Regions from separate parts of the Homo sapiens genome. Here all the other regions are linked to region 4. The links are contacts of gene promoters, found by promoter capture Hi-C in human tissues and cell types (Jung and others, 2019). All regions are on one chromosome and are shown on one strand. Each heading gives the region's core, a stretch centred on a gene start or on the middle of the fragment in contact. The rest is flanking DNA. Distances are from core to core; before and after follow the strand shown.

Region 1 (3,464 bases), core at 342-2,841, 370 kb after region 4:
TAAGTTTTATATTTTTAGTAGATACTGGGTTTCACCATGTTGTCCAAGCTGGCTTCAAACTCCTGACCTCAGGTGATCCGCCTGCCTCGGCCTCCCACAGTGCTGGGATTCCAGGCATGAGGCGCCGCGCCCGGCCTGCCCTTCTCTCTTGACCCCTTCAGTGAGGGCCTTCTTGACATCCCCGCAACCACCACCCCCCAACCTGGGGCCATCAGTGGTGGGCCTGGGCTATTTTCTCCAATAGTCCAGGTCAGAAGGTGGGGGGTCATACATTCCAGGGGGCTGCCTTACCCGCTGGCCTGGGACTGGCTGGGTTGTTCACAGCTGTGCACACAGTAGGTGCTCAATAAATGGCATATGGGTGGCTCTGCTGACATGCTACAGGCTGGAGGGCAGACTGAGTTGGACCAGCAACACCCTGTATGTCCCCAGCAAACCTCTCTCCCTGTGGTCAGCGCTGTGGGACAGCAGGGTGGGCTTCCTGGAGGAGGGGGTGCTCAGACCGAGCCTGGGTGGAGCCCAGGGAGCAGGACAGTCCCTCCACCCCCTCCTTTAGTGCCCCAGTCCCTCAGCCCGCCCGCCAGGGGGCGCCGTGGGGCGACACCAGAAACTGGTGGAGCCCAGAACCCAGGGCCTGGTCTCATCCCTGCGTGGGTGGGCACGGGGCGGCTCACAGACGCCCGGCGGGAAAGGGTGGGGTGGGGGGAGTCCCGGGGTGCCCCCTCGCGTTGCCGGTCCGCGCAGAGCCGGATTCCAGATGGAAGGTTCGCGGTGGAGATCCCTGCCGGGCCCACTGCTGGGATGGGGAAACTGAGGCCGGAGAGGGTGTGGCCGCGGCTGTGAGGGAGAGGGACCGCCTGGACCCGGGTCTGGCTCTGAAGCCCCGCTGGCAGCCCCGGGGCCCGGCAGGGAGGGCGGGAGGCGGGGTGGGGCGCGTCCCCTGGTGACAGCAGCGCCCGGGAATGCGCCAGCTGGGAGGGTCTCTCCGCCCCCCGCGCGCGGCCCACGGGGCCGAGCCTCTCCCCAGTGCGCTGGGGCCCTGCGCTGGGGGTGACCGGGACCTGGGTCGGGGAACCCCCGGATGGGAGCCCAGGCGCGCCAGGGTCCCCATCCACGAGCAGGTCGACCCCCCGCGAGAGGGGTGAGGGGCAGGACCAGGGGAGGGGGCTGTGACCGGGGATGGGGACGCCGGTGGGACGCAATCCGGGCGTCGGCGGGGTAGGGGCAGCGCCCGGGACTCCCAGACCCAGGGCGGGGTGACCTCGGTTCGCGCACATTCCCGGGCCCTGAGCGCGGCGCCCGGAATAGCAGCCCCGGGGCAGAGGAGGGCGGTCAGTCCCCGCGCCGCGCCCCCGCCCGAGCCTGCCAAGGTCACCCGGACCCGGGCGCCCGACACCAGCCTGCGGCTCCGGGACCCCTGCGCTCGCGTCCGCCGGGCAGTCCCCTGCCGCAGATCCGCGCCCGCCGCGCGAGGGCGCCCGGGGCCGCCGCCCCTCCTGACCCGGGCCTGGGCGCGCCTGCGGAGGCCGCGGTGGGAGGGACCGTCCCAGGCTCCCCACCCCGCCCAGCACCTTGGGCCCCGCCGCTTCCGCTCGCCCTGGGGCCGCTCAGGGAGCCGGGACGCGCTGCCTGGGCTCCGCGCAGCCGGTAAGTCCATCTGCCTATCCTCCCACTTTCTCCGGGGGAAACTGAGGCCCAGAGGTGCGGCTTGCCTTGAGATCCCTCCGCCAGTCCGGGCTGCAGCCCACACGGGGAGGGGAGAGCCTTGATTCTGGGCAGGGCCCATTGAGGAGGGGGTAGGGTGGTCCTTGTAGCCCCCCACTTTTCACCACCTAGACCCCCACTCCTCAAACCAGGCTTAGAGTCCGGTGGGGGTGGTCAGAAGGTCAAGCCCCCTCCCCCTGTTTTTTTTGGTTGGTTGGTTGTTTTTGAGACTGAGTCTCACTATGTCGCCCAGGCTGGAGTGCATTGGCCCCATCTCGGCTCACTGCAACCTCCGCCTCCTGGGTTCAAGCGATTCTCCTGCCTTAGCCTCCCAAGTAGCTGGGATTACAGGTGTGCACCACCACACCGGGCTAATTTTTGTGTTTTAGTACAGATGGGGTTTTACCATGTTGGTCAGGCTGGTCCCAAACTTCTGACCTCAGGTGATCCGCCTGTCTTGGCCTCCCAAAGTGCTGGGATTACAGGCGTGAGCCACCGCACCTGGCCCCCCTCCCCTTGTTTTAAGTTTCTGGTGCAGACTTCTTCCTGCTTCCTGGGCCAGCCCAGGCTCTAGGCTCAGAGAGGGGCACGGATGCAGCAGACCACACAGCTGTCTCAGTACCTAGAGATACCCAGGACCCTAGACCCTTGGTGCCTCAGAAGTCCAAATGCTGGAGCCAGGGAAACAGGGTCCAGGTGGGACCCAGCCTCTTCCCCAGCTGGTGCCCGGGCCGGGGCTCACCCACCTGCCTTCAGGCTCTGCTGGCAGCAGGACGCCCTGGCTCACTTGGCGGCTGCTTCCCTTCCCCCCTCTTTCCCCCTGCAGGCTGGGGTCATGAGGAGGGTGTGGATGGCAAGTGACTTCATCCCTGCCCTGACAGGATGGAGAAACTAAGGCCCAGAGAGGCAGTCAGCCTCCTCCCCTTCCCTGCTCCAGCCTCAGCAGTGGCCCCTTCCCTCCACGGGCTGCCCCGGAGCTCAGTCCCACCCCCTCCGCCGATGAGGCCATGAGGCACCGAACGGACCTGGGCCAGGTCACCCCCTCCCTGTCCCATCCCCAATCCGGGGGACTCCCTGCTGTCTGGGAGCTGAGGGAGCCCTGGGGCCGGGGTGCAGCTGAGGGCCTCTTCTAGGGACCCAACTCCTGATCCAGCCCCTGCCGGCCGCACCTTCCGCAGGGTGTCACAGAATCATGGACTGAGTCCACTTGGCCCCCACTGCACAGATGGGGAAACTGAGGCCTGGGAGAGTGGAGTGGCTGGCCTCAGGCCACACGGAAAGGTAGAAGCAGTGATGGTGGGGAGGGCGGGGAGGGGGCCCCAGCCCTAGGAGGCACCTGTGTACTATTTTTGAATGATCCCTCCAATCATCAAGCATCGATTAAGCACCTACTGTCTGCATTATAGCACAATACACATATCAATAATATTGTAGGCTGGGTGCAGTGGCTCATGCCTATAATCCTAGCACTTTGGGAGGCCAAAGCAGGTGGATCACTTCAGGTCAGAAGGTTGAGACCAACCTGGCCAAGATGGTGAAACCCTGTCTCCACTAAAACGGCAAAAATTAGTCCGGCGTGGTGGCAGGCACCTGTAATCCTAGCTTCTCGGGATGCTGAGGCAGGAGAATTACTTGAACCGGGGAGGGTTGCAGTGAGCCGAGATCGCACCCCTGCACTCCAGCCTGGGCGACAGAGCGAGACTCCGTCTCAAAAACAAACTAACTAACAACAATAATAATTGCAGATGACATTCTGAGTT
Region 2 (3,038 bases), core at 480-2,979, 480 kb after region 4:
GAATGGACCTAATCCAGGTACCCCATCTGGGAGCCCTTTCCCTGCCTCACCCCAAAGTCGATGGCTCCATCCCCCATGGCCGGTGGACTCCCTGCTCAGGCCCATCCCTGCAATGTCCCTCACACAGGCACACGGACCCTGCCAAGTCAAAGTGCCTGGAGAGGACTCACAGCACGGGCTAGGCAGGGGCTAAGTGCTTTCATCCTGGTTCTCCAACGGAAGGTGCTCTTTTGTTTTGTCTGGGGAGGGGGAGAGCCCACAAAAGGCATTTCCCATCCACAAGTGTGACCTGTAGCTGGTGCGAGAGGCGCCTGCCAAGGCAACCCTCTAGCAGCAACCGCTCCCGCACTAGCCAAGCCCAGCGCTGAGAACACAGGGCGCTGCTCAAAGCTAAGGGCACCGAGAAATTTACACCAGACCACTAGGAAACCCAACCCAGACTGTTTTGCCGGAAGAATGCAACTCTAAAACGACGTCGCTGCGGCAGGAGCCGCTCCTACCAAAGAATGGCGCCGAGCCCTGGGGCACAGCGAAATGAGGTTTCCCGGCCCCGCGGGGTCCGGAGCAGGTCAGGCTCCTATAGGAGGGGACGCCTCGGCGCAGCAAAGATCCGCGGGCCCGTCGCCGCCTCGGAAGCGCTGACTCTCCCTTCCGCAGCTCAAGCCCACCCCCGGCGGGGAGGCGCCGAGGCAACGTAAACACAGCAGGCCCCGGCTGACCCGAGCCCCCTGGGCCCTGGGTTTGCGAACCCCTCCCGACCTTACCACTTTGGGGGGGTGGGATGGGAGCGGGGAGCCCGGAGCCCCGAGTGGGATAGGTTGGGCGGTGGCAGAACCGGAACCCTCGCCTCGGCTCGCCACGTGCGCCGCCCGCCAAGTTTGGGCGCGCGCTGGGGGCGCCCCGGACCACCCCCCACGCCACAGTTTGGGGTCCCCCTGGCCAGGAAGCCGGGAGGCGGCGGCGACGGCGCCCTGGACTCCCCGCAGACTCCCTCAGGTTCTCATTCGGGGTCCCCCAGGCCAGGAAGCCCTACAGGCGGCAACGGGGACGCTCCAGACCCCCCCAAGTTCCCGTTCGGGGCCGCCACAACCAGGAAGCGGCGGCGGGGGCCCCTGAACCCCTCTGGCTCCCATTCGGGGTCCCTCAGGACGCGCAGTCGGGAAGCGGCGGCACGGGCGCCCCAGGACACCCCCCCAGGTTGCCGTTCGGGGTTCCCCCGACCAGGAAGTCTGGAGGCGGCGGCGGGGCCCCCCGGACCCCTCAGGCTCTCCTTCAGGATCCCCCAGGACGGGAAGCCGGGAAGCGGCGGCGGGGGCGCCAGGACCCCCCCAGACCCCGGGCACCCGTCCAGGGCCCCCGGCGCGAAGCCGCGGCGAGTCCGGGTCCCGAGTCCGCCCCCGGCCGGCGTGACCTTGACGGGGCGGCCCCGGGGGGCGGCGTCTGAGGCCGGGCGGCGGGGAGCGGCGGGCCGGGCTCGGGGCGGAGACGCAGGCCCGCGCCGCTCGTCCTCACCCGATCTCGTCGGCGCCCGAGTTGTTCATGGCGGCGGCGGCGGCGACGCTCGGCGCTCCCGGGCCTCCTCGCTCGCTCCCGCCTCCGGAAGGTCACCCGCTCCGTCGCCCTCCCCACAGCCGCGGCCCGGATCTGCGCAACGGCGGCGGCGGCGGCGGCGGCGGCGGCGGCGGCGGCGGCGGCTGCCTCCTCCCCTCGGCGCCAACGGTCACCGCGCGTCCCCGCGCCGCCGCGCCGCCGCCCCTGCGCACGCCCGGGCGCGCTCCCGCACGGGGTCTCCGGGGGCGGGTCCAGGGGTACTCCGTCTGTGCGTGCGTCCCTGAGGCGGATTTCGCGCCGCCGCAGTCGGGGCCGTCGCGCGTTTTCCTTTCTCCTCGGAGGCTCCTGGCGTTGCCGCGGGGCACGCTGGGAAATGGAGTCCCTGCGCTGGCCCCGCCCCTGCAAGGGGAGGATGCGCGCGGGCCGAGCCACGTGCGTGCGTGCGCGCGCGTGCGGGCTTGCGTGCGCGTGCGCGCTTGCGAGACCGGCGCTCCGGGCTAGGCACTGTGGGCGCAGGCGCGGCTGCCGCTTCCTCTTTAACTCTTCACTCGGAAGCGGTGGAGCCGCGTGGGGCGCTGCGGGGAGTGGGAGTGTACCCGCCCGCACCCCAGGCGGGCGGACGGAGCGGGAACGGCACGTGAGCGTCCCGCGCGAGGCTCCTTCCCCTGTCCGCATTTCACAGAAGAGGATCCCGAGGGTCCGAGAGGCTGAGTCACTTGGCCAAGGTCACCCAGTTCGGGGCTGAACTGGAATCAAATCAAAACAATTAACTAAATTCAATGACTATGAAAAGATATTATTGACCCCCCCCCCAAGTGCTATTACTATTAATAGCCAAATACTGTTTTAGTTGCATCTGTTAATTGCATACATCAGTGGTTCTTCTTCTGGGTGACTTTGCCCCCTAGGGGATAACTTGGCAATGTCTGAAAACACGGTTTTGGTTGTCACAACTTGAGTGCGGGGTGCTGCTGGCATCGAGTGGGTCCAGACCAGACATGCCGCTCAGCACCCTGCAGTGCACACGACGACCCCCCAAAAAGAATGATACCCGTCCTCCAATGTCAGCAGAAGGAGGTGGAAAAACCGGTCTAGGCTGACGGTAGTAAACAGGTGACCCGCAGGGTTTTGTAAAACCGGGTACGTGCTGCCTACTGCTTTTCTCCTTAATCTCACAGCACATTGACAGCCTGATCGTTTGGTTTATTCATCATCACAGAATTAAATAAATACAAGGAACAAGGCCGGGTGAGGTGGCGCACGCCTATAATCCCAACACTTTGGGAGGCCGAGGATCAATTTAGGTCAGGAGATCGAGACCAGCCTAGCCAACATATATAGTGAAACCCCGTCTCTACTAAAAATACAAAAGAAAATTAGCCGGGCGTGGTGGTGGGCGCCTGTAATCCCAGCTACTCGGGAAGCTAAGGCCGGAGAAATGCTTGAAGGCAGGAAGTAGAGGTTGCAGTGAGCCGAGATCGCGCCAC
Region 3 (3,514 bases), core at 522-3,021, 500 kb after region 4:
TCAGCTAATTTTGCATTTTTTAGTAGAGACAGGGTTTCTCCATGTTGATCAGGCTGGTCTTGAACTCCCGAACTCAGGGGATCCGCCCACCTCGGCCTCCCAAAGTGCTGGGATTACAGGCCTGAGCCACCACGCCCAGCTGGTTTGTTTTTGTTTTTGTTTTTGAGACGGAGTTTCACTCTTGTTGCCCAGGATGGAGTGCAATGGTGCAATCTTAGCTCACTGCAACCTCCGCCTCCCGGGTTCAAGCGATTCTCTTGCCCCAGCCCCCCAGTAGCTGCGATTACAGGCATGCGCCACCACACCCAGCTGATTTTGTATTTTTAGTAGAGACGGGGTTTCTCCATGTTGGCCAGGCTGGTCTCGAACTCCGGACCTCAGGTGATCCGCCCACCTTGGCCTTCCAAAGTGCTGGGATTACAGGCGTGAGCCACCGCGCGTGGGCCAGGCATTCTTAACAAGGGGCCTGGTGAGGATTCAGAACTGTGAATTTGCTTGGAATAAAAAAATATATATGTCTTTGTTGTCACCAGCATCTTATGGAAAATTAGCCCTTCATTCAATTCTTAGCGTAGGCTGGGTGCCGTGGCTCCCAGCACTTTGGGAGGCTCAGGTGGGAGGATTGCTTGAACTCAGAAGTTCGAGACCAGCCTGGGCAACAGGGCAAGACCCCCATCTCTACTAAAAATACAAAAACTAGCCAGGCATGGTGGCGCACACCTGTGGTCCCAGCTACACAGGACACTGAAGTGCCAGAATCGCTTGAGCCTGGGAGGCACAGGTTGCAGTGATGAGCCAAGATGGCACCACTGCACTCCAGTCTGAGCGACAGAGGCAGACCCTGTCTTAATAAATAAATAAAAAATTCTTAGCATAGACAACAAAATACGGCAGTATTAGCAGGACCTGTAACTTTTCACCAAGCGGAATCACAGATGTTTCCTAGCTATGGTGCAGGGGCTGCAGACGTTTCCGTATCATCAAAGCCTCATTTCCACTCCTCACTCCTTCCAAATCACAGTCGCAATTAGACCTGCCGCTAGATCGCGTTCATAAGGGAAGCACTTAGATTACTAAGTCGCCAATCAGGTTTCAAGACAATCTTTTAATAACTGCCTCTCCGTGTAACTGATTTCCTTGCAATTCTATGGATTTTATTCCATGCATTTAATAACTTTATCTGAGCAGAGGTCCGCAGGCTTCAGCTGATCCCAAAAAAGTCCCTGGAGCAGGACAGGCTCTGCGAGAGGCCCTTACCTCCCAGGGGTGGGGAGGGAGGTGGAGGGTCCAGCAGGGTGGCGTGGATGTCCTGGGTCCTGTTCCTTCCCAGGCCCGGCCCTGTGACCTCGAAGACCCTCAATGGGCCTCAGTTTCCCAGCCTGTCAGGCAGGCCCCGCTCTCTCCAGGGCATCTCAAGAGCAGCCTCGCGGGCCGTGCCCTGGTCTCGGGGACGTGAATGGGGCCCCTCCAGCCTCCACCCCGAGCGCCTTCCTGAGGCTGGAGGCTTGCGTCATGACCTACCGGGCCTCGGTTTCCCCGACTGTACTCTGGACGCAATAACGGCGACCGTTCATCGCAAGCCGGGCGGGGAGCCCGAGGAGCGGCCGGCTCGGAGAAGCCCGGAGAGGACCGCGGCCACGACGCCGGCACCGACCCCCGACGCCACCACGACACCCGAGGCTCCCACGGCCCCAGACCCGCGCGGCCCCACACCCGCCGCCGGTGCCGCGCTCACCTGACAGCACCGCCATCTTGGCCTCGGCCTTCAGACAACCTCTGAGGTCCGTTCTCCTTAGCGCTCCGGGTTCCCGGGGCCGCCGCCCAAAGCGGCTCGGAGCGCATGCGGAAACCGGAACCTGGAGCCGGGAGGTTCCGCTGCGCTTTCGGCCTCCGTGGTCGTGTTGCGCCGTGCACCCCCAGATCACCCGAGGCGGAAAGGTCATCGGAGTGCGCACGTGGGGGCCGCGGGTCTGCGGCGGACCGACAAAAACAGAGGCGACACTCATTTTCTTGTTATTCCAGGAGGGCAAAAGTCACCACGCGTCCCTGGGTGGGCTCGAACCACCAACCTTTCGGTTAACAGCCGAACGCGCTAACCGATTGCGCCACAGAGACGACACTGCGCTCCGGCGCCCTGGGAGACCTTACAAAGGATGTGGGGCCTGCTGACGCGAAACGACTGCGCCTGCGCAGGGAAGGCGCAGCGCGGGACGGAGTCCCGGCGAGAGCGACTCTGCCGCCCAGCCGAAATAGCTCAGTTGGGAGAGCGTTAGACTGAAGATCTAAAGGTCCCTGGTTCGATCCCGGGTTTCGGCAGAAGTTTTAGCGCCTCTTGCGATCACTGATGTCTTTCGTTCAGGATTGGTCCAGCTGCCTCGCAGCTATCCCGGACCCCTTACCGCAACATCACCGCATTCTGCAGAGGAGTCGCCGCGATGTGGACTCATCCCAAAGTAAGGGGGCTCAGACCTCACAACCCCAAAGCCTCCTCTTCCCACCCCTAAGAGGTCATAATTTCAGCTCAAACTTCCCCCTTCCCTGACACACCCTCGATTTTCCATCTTGCTTAAATTGATAAGTTTACAACCAGTACTAATGATATAAAAACTAACACTAAACACCCAAACTAGCAAAACAGAGTTTGCAGAACGCTTTCTGCATGCATATCATTTAATTTTCACAATTCCACTGGAGGTTTTGTCTGCCTGTTTTATGATTACAAAAACAGAGGCAAAGGCCGGTGCGGTGGTTCACGCCTGTAATCCCAGCACTTTGGGAGGCTGAGGCAGGCAAATCACCTGAGGTCAGGAGTTCAAAACCAACCTGGCCAATATGGTGAAACCCTGTATCTAAATCCCAGCTACTCGGGAGGCTGAGGCAAGAGAATCACTTGAATCCGGGAAGCGGAGGTTGCAATGAGCTGAGATCGTGCCACCGCACTCCAGCCTGGGCGACAGAGTGAGACTCCATCTCAAAAAAAAAAAAAAAAGAAAAAAGAAAAAGAAAAAGTAAAGAAAACAGAGGCTCAAATTAGGTGAACACAGGTGACTAGCAAGACTGGGGGCCCCTTGAGGACCACAACAAGTGTTTACTGAATTCGTGCCATGGGCTGGGGACCCACTGCTGAGCAAAGCCAGGCCTGGTCTCTGTTCTTGGGCAGCTCAAAAGGATTGGAGGGGCCCAGCATGGTGGCTCACACCTGCAATCCCAGCACTTTAGGAAGCCGAGGCAGGAGGATCACTTGAAGCCAGGAGCTTGAGACCAGTCTGGGCAACATAGCAAGACCCCATCTCTACAATACATAATAATAATAAAGACTTGGGGGAAAAGCTGACAAGAACCTAAGAGGCTGGCAGGTGCACAAAACCCTCTTCCTTCTCTAGTTCTCATAGCTGCCCGTGCTGTAGGGTTTTGGTTTTATTTTTATTTATTTATTTTTTGAGATGGAGTCTTGCTCTGTCACCCAGGCTGGAGTACAGTGGCAAGATCTCAGCTCACTGCAGCCTCCACCTCC
Region 4 (3,294 bases), core at 663-3,162:
CTTCCCACCAATTCACACTCACACTTCCAGGCTGGGCCCCTTTGGTGTCTGCAGCCCTTTCTGCCCCTGTCCCTGTCACTTCCTTAGAAAGGCCTGCCCTGACCACGCTCTGAGATTCTCCAGTAACCTTCTTCCATTTTCTTTTCTTTACTTTTTTTTTTTTTGAGGCAGAGTCTTGCTCTGTCGCCCAGGCTGGAGTGCAGTGGCGTGGAGTAGCTGAGATTACAGGTGCGCGCCACAACAGCCGGCTAATTTTTGTATTTTTAGTAGAGATGGGGTTTCACCATGTTGGCCAGGGTGGCCTAATTTTTGTATTTTTAGTAGAGACAGGATTTCACCATGTTGGCCAGGCTGAACTCCTAACTTCAGGTGATCTGCCTGCCTCGTTCTCCCAAAGTGCTGAGATTACAGGCGTGAGCCACTAGGCCCTGCCATAATGCAATTTTTTTTTTTTTTGAGACGGAGTCTCGCTCTGTCGCCCAGTCTGGAGTGCAGTGGCGCGGTCTCAGCTCACTGCAAGCTCTGCCTCCTGGGTTCACGCCGTTCTCCTGCCTCAGCCTCCCGAGTAGCTGGGACTACAGGCGCCCGCCACCACGCCCGGCTATCTTTTTGTATTTTTAGTAGAGATGAGGTTTCACCGTGTTAGCCAGGATGGTCTTGATCTCCTAACCTCATGATCTGCCCGACTCGGCCTCCCAAAGTGCTGGGATTATAGGCGTGAGCCACCGCGCCCAGCCCATAATGAAATTTTTTTAAGAGACAGGATCTTGCTCTCTCGCCCAGGCTGGAATGCAGTGGAGTGATCATAGTTTTATTTATTTATTTATTTATTTATTTATTTATTTATTTATTTATCTGAGACAGTCTTCTTGCTCTGTCACTTGGGCTGGAGCACAGTGGCCCGATCTTGGCTCACTGCAACCTTCGCCTCCCGGGTTCAAGCGATTCTCCTGCCTCAGCCTCCGGAGTAGCTGGGACTACAGGCGCGTGCCACCATGCCCGGCTAATATTTGTATTTTTAGTAGAGACAGGGTTTCACCACGTTGGTCAGGCTTGGTCTCAAACTCCTGACTTCAGGTGATCTACCTGTTTCAGTCTCCCAAAGTGCTGGGATTACAGGCATGAGCCACCGTGCCCGGCCTAATGTAATATTTTAAAAACTAATGCAAAAGAATTTCTGATGAGCAATATATAAAGACTTTAAATAAGCTGGTCATGGTGGCTTGTGCCTATAGTCCTAGCTACTCAGGAGGCTGAAGTAGGAGGTTCACTTGATCCTGGGAGGTCGAGGCTGCAGTGAGCTATGATGGCACCAGCCTGGGTGACAGAGTAGACTCTATGTTAAAAAAAAGAGGCCAGGTGCGGTGGCTGATGCCTGTAATCCCAACACTTTGGGAGGCTGAGGCAGGAGGATTCTGGGGTCAGGAGTTCGAGGCCACACTGGCCAACATGGGGAAACCCCGTCTCTACTGAAAACACAAAAATTAGCTGGGCATGGTGGTGGGCGCCGGTAATCCCAGCTACTCAGGAGGCTGAGGCAGGAGAATCGCTTGATCCCAGGAGGCAGAAGTTGCAGTGAGCTGAGATCGCGCCATTGTACTCCAGCCTGGGCGACAGAGCGCGACTCCATCTCATAAAGAAAAATATTTTAAAACATTTCTAAATGTTGATGTCTGAGTTTTTTTTGGCGTCCCTGTAAATTTTGTTTTCCAGGCGAGAACTTTACTGGCCTCAACCTATTCCGGGTCCCCAAGTGAATGAAACCTAAGTTTGGCCCCGCCCACAGAGCAGCAGGCCACGCCCCTCGACATATCAGCCCCGCCCCCAGGACGCTAGTCGCGCGGTCGCTCTGTGCCTGCAGACCCCCGCCCCGCGCGCTCCTCGCGTCACTTCCGGGGCGGTGGTGAGAACGAGGCTCACTTCCGTCCGTGGGGGGAGCTGCGGCGGTGGCGGTGCAGGAGGCCGGGCAGGGGTGCGGAGGGACCGACGGACGCACGGGCGGGCGGCCGGGAGCCATGGAGCGCGGCCCTGGGGCCCGGGGGCGCGGGCCGGGGTGGTGAGTGCCGGGCAGGGGCGGGGGCGGGCGCGGCCGCGCGGGGTCCCGGGCCGGGCCTCGAGGGCCTGACAGCCCGGTTGGACGTCCCCGAGACCCCTGCAGTCCCAGGGCTTCCGCGGGTCCTGCCCGAGGAGCCCAGAGCAGGGGCGCGGACCGCGGATGAGCGTCTGTGATTGGGAAAGCCCTGTCCCCATCCATTCAGCCCTCCGGCGTGGGTTGCGCTCCCACCCTCCTGCGGACGCGGCCCTTGCCTTCGGGGAGCACCCGTCCGAGCCGCGGATTCCGCTCTTTTGCCCCGAAACTGCCCCCAGTCCGACAAACGCTTCGGCCTCTCGCCCCCCAAGGCAGCTCCCAGGGGCCCTCCCGAGCCCTGCTTCCCAACCAGCTCCCAGTCGCTGTTTCCCTTGTCAGGCTTCTTCCTGCCACCCTGACTCCTGGGCGGGCTTCCCGGCCTCCGCTCGCGTCCGTTCTCCGGGATGCAGCCCTTCTCCTATGTTGTCCATCGCTTGCTCGGGACTTCTTCGCGGCCCCGCCATTTCTCCCAGGATGAAGTGCAAACTCTCGGGGGCGCGACCTCACCCGTCCCAGGCTCTCTCTTAGGACCCTTCTGCTCACTTCTTCCTCCCAGGGTCTGCTCTAGCCAGGAGCCTGCTCTGTCACCTCGGATTTTGCTCCTGCTTGTCCCTCTGTCCCATCCCCCTGTCACCTGGCCCGTTTGTCTGCCCTCTGATATGGCCGCGCCTCCCCCCAGGCGGGTTTCCCACCCTGACTGGTTGAGTGAGGTGCAGTCACCGTCTCCCATATGTAGGTCATCTTCCAGTATTTTGGCTGCTCGGTTGCTTGCTGGTCCTCAGAACACCTCTAGCTTGCAGAGGGTTGCCCAGTTAAGTGCGTGGGAACGGAATTGGTGGGATTCAGGGTGTCAAGGGTGTGTGCCCAGTGAGTGAGGCGTCTGGGTTTGCACTCCCCAGTCCACGCCCATTAGTGACACTAGGGAGGTTCCAGGTACCTGTGGCTGGAGAGGAGAGGAGACTAGACTTTCCCTTCCCTGTCAAAGCTGGCGGACCTTGGGGATTCTTTTCCTCCTGTGCTTCCTCCTTAATTCTGTGCTGCCTACCACCTGCCCATTCCTTTAGTGAGTGGCAGGTCATGGTCCTGCTCTCATAGAGTTTCTGGTTTGGAGGTGGGGGGAGATCTGGCCAAACGTGTGAAAAATACAAGCTGTGGAAAGAGCGTGT

The links. The method cuts DNA at HindIII sites, captures the fragments that hold promoters and counts their contacts. A contact is called where the count stands out against the background at its distance.
Region 1: a contact is called between the fragment with the promoter of ADAMTSL5 here and the fragment with the promoter of ABHD17A in region 4, in 1 of the 25 tissues and cell types used here (dorsolateral prefrontal cortex).
Region 2: a contact is called between the fragment with the promoter of DAZAP1 here and the fragment with the promoter of ABHD17A in region 4, in 1 of the 25 tissues and cell types used here (lymphoblastoid cells).
Region 3: the fragment with the promoter of NDUFS7 here is called in contact with the fragment with the promoter of ABHD17A in region 4 in 1 of the 25 tissues and cell types used here (dorsolateral prefrontal cortex).

Annotation. Positions count from the first base shown.
Region 1 is chr19:1,511,146-1,514,609 of GRCh38, reverse strand. It overlaps ADAMTSL5 (ADAMTS like 5), which reads left to right and starts at 1,591. Exons shown (of 12, transcript NM_213604.3): 1 at 1,591-1,647; 2 at 3,450-3,464. RefSeq lists silencers at 478-557, 1,397-1,766. The HindIII fragment of the contact is 17,964 bases long and covers 1-3,464 here.
Region 2 is chr19:1,406,277-1,409,314 of GRCh38, reverse strand. It overlaps DAZAP1 (DAZ associated protein 1), which reads right to left and starts at 1,729. Exons shown (of 12, transcript NM_018959.4): 1 at 1,513-1,729. The coding sequence starts at 1,541. RefSeq lists silencers at 826-925, 1,306-1,515, 1,656-1,885. The HindIII fragment of the contact is 8,178 bases long and covers 1-3,038 here.
Region 3 is chr19:1,382,164-1,385,677 of GRCh38, reverse strand. It overlaps NDUFS7 (NADH:ubiquinone oxidoreductase core subunit S7), which reads right to left and starts at 1,771. Exons shown (of 8, transcript NM_024407.5): 1 at 1,736-1,771. The coding sequence starts at 1,751. TRF-GAA1-6 (tRNA-Phe (anticodon GAA) 1-6) reads left to right here and starts at 2,244; the gene lies at 2,244-2,316. TRN-GTT2-6 (tRNA-Asn (anticodon GTT) 2-6) reads right to left here and starts at 2,115; the gene lies at 2,042-2,115. RefSeq lists silencers at 1,642-1,701, 1,952-2,091, 2,272-2,401. The HindIII fragment of the contact is 12,722 bases long and covers 1-3,514 here.
Region 4 is chr19:1,884,114-1,887,407 of GRCh38, reverse strand. It overlaps ABHD17A (abhydrolase domain containing 17A, depalmitoylase), which reads left to right and starts at 1,912. Exons shown (of 5, transcript NM_001130111.2): 1 at 1,912-2,056. RefSeq lists an enhancer at 1-333 and a silencer at 2,500-2,647. The HindIII fragment of the contact is 23,112 bases long and covers 1-3,294 here.